Regions from separate parts of the Homo sapiens genome. Here all the other regions are linked to region 3. The links are contacts of gene promoters, found by promoter capture Hi-C in human tissues and cell types (Jung and others, 2019). All regions are on one chromosome and are shown on one strand. Each heading gives the region's core, a stretch centred on a gene start or on the middle of the fragment in contact. The rest is flanking DNA. Distances are from core to core; before and after follow the strand shown. Region 1 overlaps USP2 (ubiquitin specific peptidase 2). Region 2 overlaps CBL (Cbl proto-oncogene). Region 3 holds the start of DPAGT1 (dolichyl-phosphate N-acetylglucosaminephosphotransferase 1).

Region 1 (3,127 bases), core at 384-2,883, 250 kb after region 3:
CATGTGTTTAGAGGAAAAGTGACTTAGAATGATTGATAACATGGGAGTGGAGACCTTCAAGATCCACAAGTCCTATCTCAGTAATTTGCAGATGAGGCACGGAGGCCCAGAAAGAGGGAGGTTCTTGTTCAAGGTCACACAAGAGCAGTTGCAGGGGAAGCCCCTCCCCTAGGGAGAGGCCTGCTGGATCAAGAGCAAACAATGAGGGAAGAGAGCCAAGTTGCTAGGAGGCAAAGCTTGATGGACAAAAAAACGTGGGGACAGACCTGCGTGTGTTTGTGCTCTGTGTAACACTAGGACCTGTTGCCATGGGGATGAGAAAGCACCACAGATTAATTACTGAAGAGCTGGGAGCAAGGGTGGCGGACCTGAGTGGAGCCCCTGCCCTCAATGTCTCCTAGAGTCCATCTGTTCCCCAGTGGAAGACAGCAAAAATTACAGGGCTGCTTCTACCTCCAGTGAAGAACTAGTCAGAGTACAGCCATTCACTTTGCTACAAGCCTCATGTTTTTATTTTGAGGGGATCCTGTTTGCCTGCGGCTTGGGGGCAATCATCAGGGTAAGATTTCCAATCACAGCCTGGGTCAGGCCACCCTCAGGGCAGGCCAGGGAAGTTTGGGTCCCTCAGGGAGAAATTCCAAGTTTTAAGTCACTGTCATTTTCAATCCCTCTTCTTCACTCTTGGGAAATGCTTAGAAAAATGCCCCCACAACTGTCCCCCTCCATGAGGTGGGTTTGATAGCAGCACACAGGCCTTAAGTGACAGCAGGTGCTTCTGTCTCAGCAAGGATGGAATAGTCAGGCCTTTATTTTTCAGTGTCTGGAGCAGTGAAGGCAGTGAGGAAGAATCCTGATGAAACACTCCAGGCTCACCTGGTGGAGCCTTCAGCTTCCCTAGTTCTAAGACCAGCAGCAGAAATGGAAAAGCTGAACAGTGCTAATGAAGAGGTGACACCAAAGGAGACGTGGGTCACCGAGTGCACCAAAGGCATCACCTCTTTTAGGGGTTAAATCTGAAGTCTTGAGAAAAAGCACTTTAGGGAACAAAGCCTGTAACATAAAGGTAACTGTTTCTAAGTATTAGGTGGTAAAGCTGAGATCTTTGACTTATCAAAGACTAAGCCCTGGCTGGGCGTGGTGGCTCACGCCTGTAATCTCAGCACTTTGGGAGGCCGAGTCAGGCAGATCACCTGAGGTCAGGAGTTCGAGACCAGCCTGACCAACATGGAGACACCCCCGTCTCTACTAAAAATAGAAAAATAGCTGGTCGTGGTGGCGTATGCCTGTAATCCCAGCTACTGGGAGGCTGAGGCAGGAGAATCGCTTGAACCCAGGAGATGGAGGTTGCAGTGAGCTGAGATCATGCCATTGCGCTCCAGCCTGGGCAACAAGAGTGAAACTCTGTCTCAAAAAAAAAAAAAAAAAAAAAAAAAGACTAAGCCCTGGTCACTCCACATCCAGGTAATGATACTCTGCTCTAAGAGCAAGTTTTGCTATATTTGACATCTGCTGGAGAGATGTATTTTATCTTATCATAGGTCTGTGAAAACACCCAAGTGTTTCTTTTTTCATAGAGACAGGGTCTCACTATGTTGCCCAGGCTGGTCTCAAACTCCTGGCCTTAAGCCATCCTCTCACTTCAACTTCTTGAATTACTGGTGTGAGCCACCATGCCCAGCCCCAAGAGTTTCAACCAAGAATTAAGAGAGTAGCCCATACCAGCATTAAAAAGTAGACAGTTCATTAAAAAAAAAAATGGACATGTGAAAACCATGTCACATAGGAGAATGTCCTGATTCTTAGGAGATGTATGCTCAAGTATTTAGAAGTGGTGATATAACACCTCACCTGAAAATGTTTCGGCAGACAGAATAAAGTACAGTTGACCTTTGAACAATGCGGGCTTGAACTGTGTGGGTCCACTTTCACGTGGATTTTTTCAACCAAATAAGGATAGAAAATACTGCATTTGTAAGATGCAAAACCCACATATATAGAAGGCTGATTTTCATATACGCAGGTTCTGCAGGGGTGACCTTGGGACTTGAATATGGTGCAGATTTTGGTATGTGTGTATCTTGGAACCAATCTCCCTGTGTATACTGGGGGATGGCTGTATATTTAAATGTGTTTGTAAACAATTGGTGAATCCAGATGAAGAATATAGTGTCCAAAATATGTATTGTTTCAGTTTTTAAAAAATTAAACTTAAATGTTCAAACTAAAAAGTGGGTAACTTTTTCCAGAAACTTGGAATTTACAAACTGGTTGAAACAATGAAATAGATGGCCCCTAATATACTAGGAGCCCTTCCTAGATTCAAACACTCCCAAATCAAGATTCCAACATCTGCCAACTGATTTCTCAAAGCTATTATTTATTCTGTACAAGGTTCCACTGTACATTAGACATTCTTCTACTCTTGCTTACACAGTAAACAAGTGTACACTTGCCCTTGGGCTCAGGTTCACAGGTCTTCTCTGGAGAAGGGTGTCAGGCCAGTAAAACTCAGGGTGTCTTTCTCTGATGCCTCCTCCTAGGAGCCTGGAATGTGCCAGGCTCCACGGGGCACAAGCCGGGCCCAGCTGTGTGGGTGAACAGCTTTACTCTCCAGGACAGCACAGAGTTTTATCCAACTATGTAGGGCAAAATTGAGCCCACAGGAAAGAACCATACAACTGAGGCAAGATGTCCCCAAATACCCAGGCTCCAGCTCCCAGGGCAGGACTGGAGACCAGCGCTAAGAAGAGCTGAGGGGTGGCCTGGGCATCCCTGAGAAACTCGGTCCAAAGGGCCTATTGTCTAGGAGGCTCTGAGAAGGGGGCGGGGGCAGGAAGGCCAGGGGGAAAGGGATGTTAAGAGAATAAATAAAAGGGAGAGAAGCTCTAGGGACGAGGGGCTTGTGCTATCCTTCAAACAGCTGGGGAGCAGACCAGGGGTGGGCTAGAGGACGTGGGCGGGAAGAACTTGATGCCCTGTCGGAAGGAATCTACCTGCTTTCTTCTTTGCCTCACTGCAATGCACAACGAGCCAGGGCTAAGGGCAGGATCCCTTTCCCAGGCGGGTTTGAACAGAGCACTGGGGAAAAGGGAAGAGGCTGAGGGATATTTCAGGAGGGGCAGTTACC
Region 2 (2,841 bases), core at 112-2,611, 150 kb after region 3:
CTAGAGATACCTAGTAGTGTGAAAATGTTAGCAGCATTGTAAACTTCAATCCTGGCAGCTTAGTTTTTTTTACTCTTATTTGTTGTGATTTGAATTTAATAATACATTTTCTTCAGAAAGCTTAAATCCTGTGTGTTAAATTTGTTACAGAAATGGAAAAAAAAAAAAACCTTTTGTTAACATTTTTCTTTTCTCTCTTTCCATAAACCCTCCCCCTACTCCATTTACATGCAGAACACTCATCCAGTCTAGTGTCTAATATATCTAGGTGGTTGAAATCCAAGTTAAGTATTTAGATTTAGTGTTTCTTAACTTGTTTCCTTATATTTATGGTATTTTTTTCAGGGTATTTACATTTAAAATAATCAGTTGAATATTTTCTTTCTAAAGTTGAACCAGATAATAGTGATTCCTTTCCTCCTGTTCTTTTACTTCATTGAGTATGATTAAAAAGCCACTTAGGGAAAGAAAATCTTCCATTGTGCTTTCTGTTAAATAGCAATCTAAGTGCTATTGACATCAACCATTGTGCAGGGCTTTTTAGGCCTATGTATGACTAAATATTAGATACTCTTAAAATCACTAGATTGAGGCCAGGTGCGGTGGCTCACGCCTATAATCCCAGCACTTTGGGAGGCCGAGGCGGGTGGATCACCTGAGGTCAGGAGTTCGAGACCAGCCTGGCCAACATGGTGAAACCCCATCTCTACCAAAAATACAAACAAACAAACAAACAAACAAAAAAACTTAGCTGGGCGTGGTGGTAGGCGCCTGTAATCTCAGCTACTTGGGAGGGCTGAGGGCAGGAGAATTGCTTCAACACAAGAGGCGGAGGTTGCAGTCAGCCGAGGTCATGCCATTACACTCTAGCCTGGGCAGTAAAAGTGAAACTCCATCTCAAGAAAAAAAAAAAAAAAAGATTAAAAAAAAATAAAATCACTAGGTTGAGGTTTTATAAATTATCTTCCTTGCAGATCCTAAATGATTAACATATTGTTGGTAGCATAGTTTCTTAGTCATTTTACCAGTTGGCACACTTACGTGTCAGTAGATACAAAGTGTTTAGCAGTGAGATGAAGGCAGTGTAGAATAAGGTTACATGCACATATCATGGAGCTGGAAACAAGTTGCTTTTAAAAACTCAGATTTCTCATTTCAAGTGTTCTCATAGTTTAATCATTTCAAAGTATAAACGTTATCAAAACATCACATTGTACCCCATGAATATAGACAATTATTTGTCATTTGAAAAAAAAATTTTTTTAAGTATTCTCATAAGATTGTTACAAAGTACTTAGAATAATGCCTGGTTCACAGAAAACAGGACATGGTATTTGATTAAAAGAAAATTAGAGCCATGCACCGTGGCATATGCCTGTAGTCCCAGCTATTCAGGAGGCTGAGATGGGAGGATCACTTGAGCCCAGGAGTTCGATCCAGCCTGCTCAATATAGCAAGACCTCATCTCAAAAAAAAAAAAAAAAAGTCATTGATGAAAAATTATGTAAAGGAGAAAGTGTTAATAAAAGTCACCCAGGCTGGACGATGTGGCTCACACCTGTAATCTCACCTACTCGGGAGGCTGAGGCAGGAGAATTGCTTGAACCTGGGAGGTGGAAGTTGCAGTGAACCAAGATCGTACCATTGCACTCCAGCCTGGGCAACAGGAGTTAAACTCTGTCTTAATAATAATAATAATAATAAAATTATCTGGGTGTGGTGGCGCATACCTGTGGTCTAAGCTGTTCTGGAGGCTGATTTGGGAAGATGCTTGAGTGTGGGAGGTTTAGGCTGCAGTGAGCTGTGATCATGCCACTGGAGTCTAGCCTGGGCAACACAGTGAGACCCCATCTAAAAACAAAAACAAAAACAAAAACAAAAATATCATCAGCCAGTCTTGTTGGCTCACGTTTGTAAGTAATCCCAGCACTTTTGGAGACTGAGGTGAGATCACTTGAGGCCAGGAGTTTGAGTACAACCTAGTCAACAGAGTGAGACCTTGACTCAAAAAAAAAAAAAAAAAAAAAAAGGACATACACTGATTGATGAAAAATTATAGAAAGGGGAAAGTGTTATCAAAAGTCAGCTGGTCTTGGTGCCTCACACCTGTAATTCTAGCACTTTTGGAGATCGAGGCAAGAGGATCACTTGAGGCCAGGAGTTTGAGACTAGCCTGTGTAATAGCAAGACCTCGTCTCTATAAAAAAGAAAAGTCATGTTCACTGAATTATACACTTAAAAATGCTTAAAATAGTAAATTTTGGTAAGTATATTTTACCACAATATTTAAAAAAGAAATGTCACAATTTAAAGTCCATTGAAATTTTCTTTTATGTAAGTGCAACCATGTATTGCTAACGACAGGATGCATTTTGAGAAATGTATTGCTGCCTGATTTAGTTGTTGTGTGAACGTCATAGAGTGTACTTACAGAAACCTAGATGATACAGCCGCCCACACACCTAGGCTATACGGTAGAGCTTATTGCTCATAGGCTACCAACCTGTACAGCATGTTACTGTACTGAGTACTGTAGACAGTTGTAACACAATGGTAAGTATGTATTTTAACATGTAAACATAGAAAAGGTGCAGTAAAAATGTGGTATTATAATCTTTTTTTATCTTTTTTTTTTTTGAGACAGAGTCTCGTCCTGTCGCCCAGGCTGGAATGCAGTGGTGCCATCTTGGCTCACGGCAGCCTCCGCCTCCCAGGTTCAAGCAATTCTCCTGCCTCAGACTCCTGAGTAGCTGGGATTACAGGTGTGCACCACCACGCCCAGCTAATTTTTGTATTTTTAGTAGAGACGGGGTTTTGCCATGTTGGCCAGGCTGGTCTGAA
Region 3 (2,838 bases), core at 1-2,500:
AGGGGCAGCAGTGGTAGGACTACCTACCCAAGTCCAGATGCAGGCCAAGTATCGGGCGGAAGGGCTTGGGCACCACAATGGTCGTGTTGCCAAAGTTGGTGAAATAGACCATGAGGAGAGGTAGTGAGGCAGCTGTAGGTAGCAGCAGCTTATGGCGCCAGCGCAGATTCAGTACATCATCCGCAAAGCCCAGGAAGATCATGCAGCAGATGGCAAGGAGGGCACCTATCAGGGCCACAAACTGGGGGAGGCTCGGGCAGGTCCATGACTCAAGCCTGCTCCCATTCCACCTTTTAAGAATTCCTGTCTTTTCTGATAATTTCTTAGCCCCTCCCCACAAGCCCAAATAACCCCAGTTCTCTCAGGTACCTCCCAGGTCCCAGCCACAGGCAATCACCCCCACGAACCCACTTACTTCATGGTGGGGGAATGCCTTACACTGCTCCTTCACAAAGCAGTTCAGGAAGGGGAAAGGGATGAAGCAGAAGAGGATGATAAGGAAAACAGCACCGCTGATCACTCCCTGGGATTCTGGGCTGTGGCCCAGCAGCAAGGGGGCGAGGGGGAAGAGGAAAGGGGGCGTGGTCACTCACTAGTGCAGGTGTTACAGTAACCCAAAGTGGTCTTCTCATTCCCGGTTTTTTATTCTGGTAAGTGGTGAGGGGGGCGGAGGGAGGAAAGCACCACTGCCAGAGTCCCAGATATACCCAAGGGTCCCTACCCATCCTTTCCCCAATGCGAGTAAGTTCTGCTCATCACCTCTCCGAGTTCCAGGCTGCCTGGGTTAGTTCTGAGTCTTCACGTGTGGTCAAGCACCCCGGTTCCCGCCCCTGCCCTAGCCACTCCTTCCTTAGCCCTTGCCCCCTGCCCGGACCCGTGTGCCGCTGCTCACATCTGCTGTCGGCTGGTTTTGTTGAGGTCCTGACCACAGAGGCGCGCAGCAATGAAGTGGCCCCGGAAGGCCGGGATGAGGGTGACTGTGGCCACAAATCCCAGCAGCGAGACGATCAAATTGATCAGCAGCGGCATGGGCAATTCCGAGAAGGCCCACATGGTGACCGGTCAGGGGCCCGGCTCCGCCGCCTCTTCAGGTAACGGGCAAGCTGAGCAGCAGTCCTGAGGCCTCAGCAGTATGGAGTGGCCGCTCCCCACAGGCAGGCTCTTCCCACACCAATCTGAGCAAAACCCAGCAACTCTGACTTGAGCCGCCGTCGGGACACCGGGGAACCTCTCTAAGGCAACCTATGTTCTGCCCCGCTGCACCCGCCTATCTACTGTTTCCGCCCGGATCTTGTTCGCTGAACAACCATTACTGCGGAAGGCGGCGGCCGCCATTTTTAATATGGGCATTAGAGGGTGGGGATGGAAGTGGAAGAGAAGTGTGATTCCAAATTTCATCCTATGTTCAAGAGTAGAATCACCGAGAGAGTACTGGAAACGCAATTAAAGAAAGGCAGCCAAGAACGGATACTTCCCTAACATTATGTTAAAGATGTACTACCCAGAGCGGAAATGCCAATTGCCCGGTTCCAAGATGAATGCCTCCTTGTACCACGTGTCTGACACCGCTCACATTCCGGTTCCACGTCAGTTTTAGCTCCGTCCGCCTCCATAGGTCAAGCTTAAAGGGCCCGTACCTCTCCCTTAATCTGGGATGCCTCCGGCTCCAGGAAGATGGCTATTGAAAGGCAGGGGGTGGGGAGGAGGGACGAGGGTGTGGAGACGCGCCTGTTTCTTGCAGGAAACCTGTTGCCAACATAGTCGGAAGCCAAGGTAAACACAACTCAGTTCCCGGAAACAAAGCTACGATTTGGAAGGATGGTGTAAATTCTAAAGCGTAGATCCTTGAAAAGCCCCTCCCACTCTGTTTTTCTTGTCCTCGATTCTGGTATTTTTTTCTCAGCATCCCACCCACCTTCTGCCCCAGCTGTAGCAGTTAGTTGCCCGGCAACCCAGCGCAGCACTTCACTGAGGGATTGGGAGTACCCTCAGGTCTTGGATTTAACTCGAGACTTCAGCTTGGCCGTGGATCACTGCATTGTACCTAGCTCCCACAAGGAGGAGATGGAGATTTCCAGGCTGAGGCTCTGGAAAGAGCTGAGGAGGGAGAGGAATCAGACCCACAACTGATTTCCTGTGAGTCTGAGGAACTCCCAGTCAGGTTTCTTCCTGTAGGTCACTGTGCATTTTGCTTGGCCTCCTGCAGGTTGCTGTGCATTTTGCTTGGCCTGTTCCCCTGCAAACAACAATTCACCAGCTTTTTTTTTTTTTTTTTTTTTTTTTTTTTGAGACAGAGTTTCGCTCTTGTTGCCCAGGCTGGAGTGCAATGGCGCGATCTCGGCTCACCGAAACCTCCACCTCCCAGGTTCAAGAGATTCTCCTGCCTCAGCCTCCCGAGTAGCTGGGATTACAGGCAGTAGCTGGAATTACAGGCATGCGCCACCACGCCCGGCTAATTTTGTATTTTTAGTAGAGACGGGATTTCCCTATGTTGGTCAGGCTGGTTTGGGACTCCCGACCTCAGGTGATCTGCCCGCCTTGGCCTCCCAAAATGCTGGGAGTACAGGCGTGAGCCACCACGCCCAGCCAGTTCACCAGCATCTTTATTACCTTTCATTCCCCGACAGGCTCTTAGGCGGCAAATGATTTCCATTTGTCAGAGAGGAAGTCACCACCAGTGAGTTAGGGAAAGGACTCCAATAGCCTAGCGCTTTGTCCACTCTTCCCTCTATGGCATGTTCCAGGAGTCAGGGTCATGTTGACCGTTTTTAAGCCGAAGATAGTTTCTTCTTTCCCTCAAAATCAGATGTGAGGCCGGGCGCAGTGGCTAACGTCTGT

The links. The method cuts DNA at HindIII sites, captures the fragments that hold promoters and counts their contacts. A contact is called where the count stands out against the background at its distance.
Region 1: a fragment that was not itself captured here is called in contact with the fragment with the promoter of DPAGT1 in region 3 in 1 of the 25 tissues and cell types used here (dorsolateral prefrontal cortex).
Region 2: a fragment that was not itself captured here is called in contact with the fragment with the promoter of DPAGT1 in region 3 in 2 of the 25 tissues and cell types used here (dorsolateral prefrontal cortex and mesenchymal stem cells).

Annotation. Positions count from the first base shown.
Region 1 is chr11:119,352,858-119,355,984 of GRCh38, forward strand. USP2 (ubiquitin specific peptidase 2) reads right to left here. Exons shown (of 13, transcript NM_004205.5): 13 at 2,358-3,127. Among named protein-coding and RNA genes, the nearest start is that of MFRP, 7.7 kb to the left of the region's middle. The HindIII fragment of the contact is 6,124 bases long and covers 1-3,127 here.
Region 2 is chr11:119,251,983-119,254,823 of GRCh38, forward strand. All of the region lies in intron 2 of CBL (Cbl proto-oncogene), which reads left to right. Among named protein-coding and RNA genes, the nearest start is that of CBL, 47 kb to the left of the region's middle. The HindIII fragment of the contact is 5,103 bases long and covers 1-2,841 here.
Region 3 is chr11:119,100,603-119,103,440 of GRCh38, forward strand. It overlaps DPAGT1 (dolichyl-phosphate N-acetylglucosaminephosphotransferase 1), which reads right to left and starts at 1,251. Exons shown (of 9, transcript NM_001382.4): 1 at 893-1,251; 2 at 416-536; 3 at 28-241. The coding sequence starts at 1,053. It also overlaps a transcript of C2CD2L not described here. RefSeq lists enhancers at 379-1,092, 904-2,103, 1,286-1,595, 1,807-2,519. The HindIII fragment of the contact is 6,056 bases long and covers 1-2,678 here.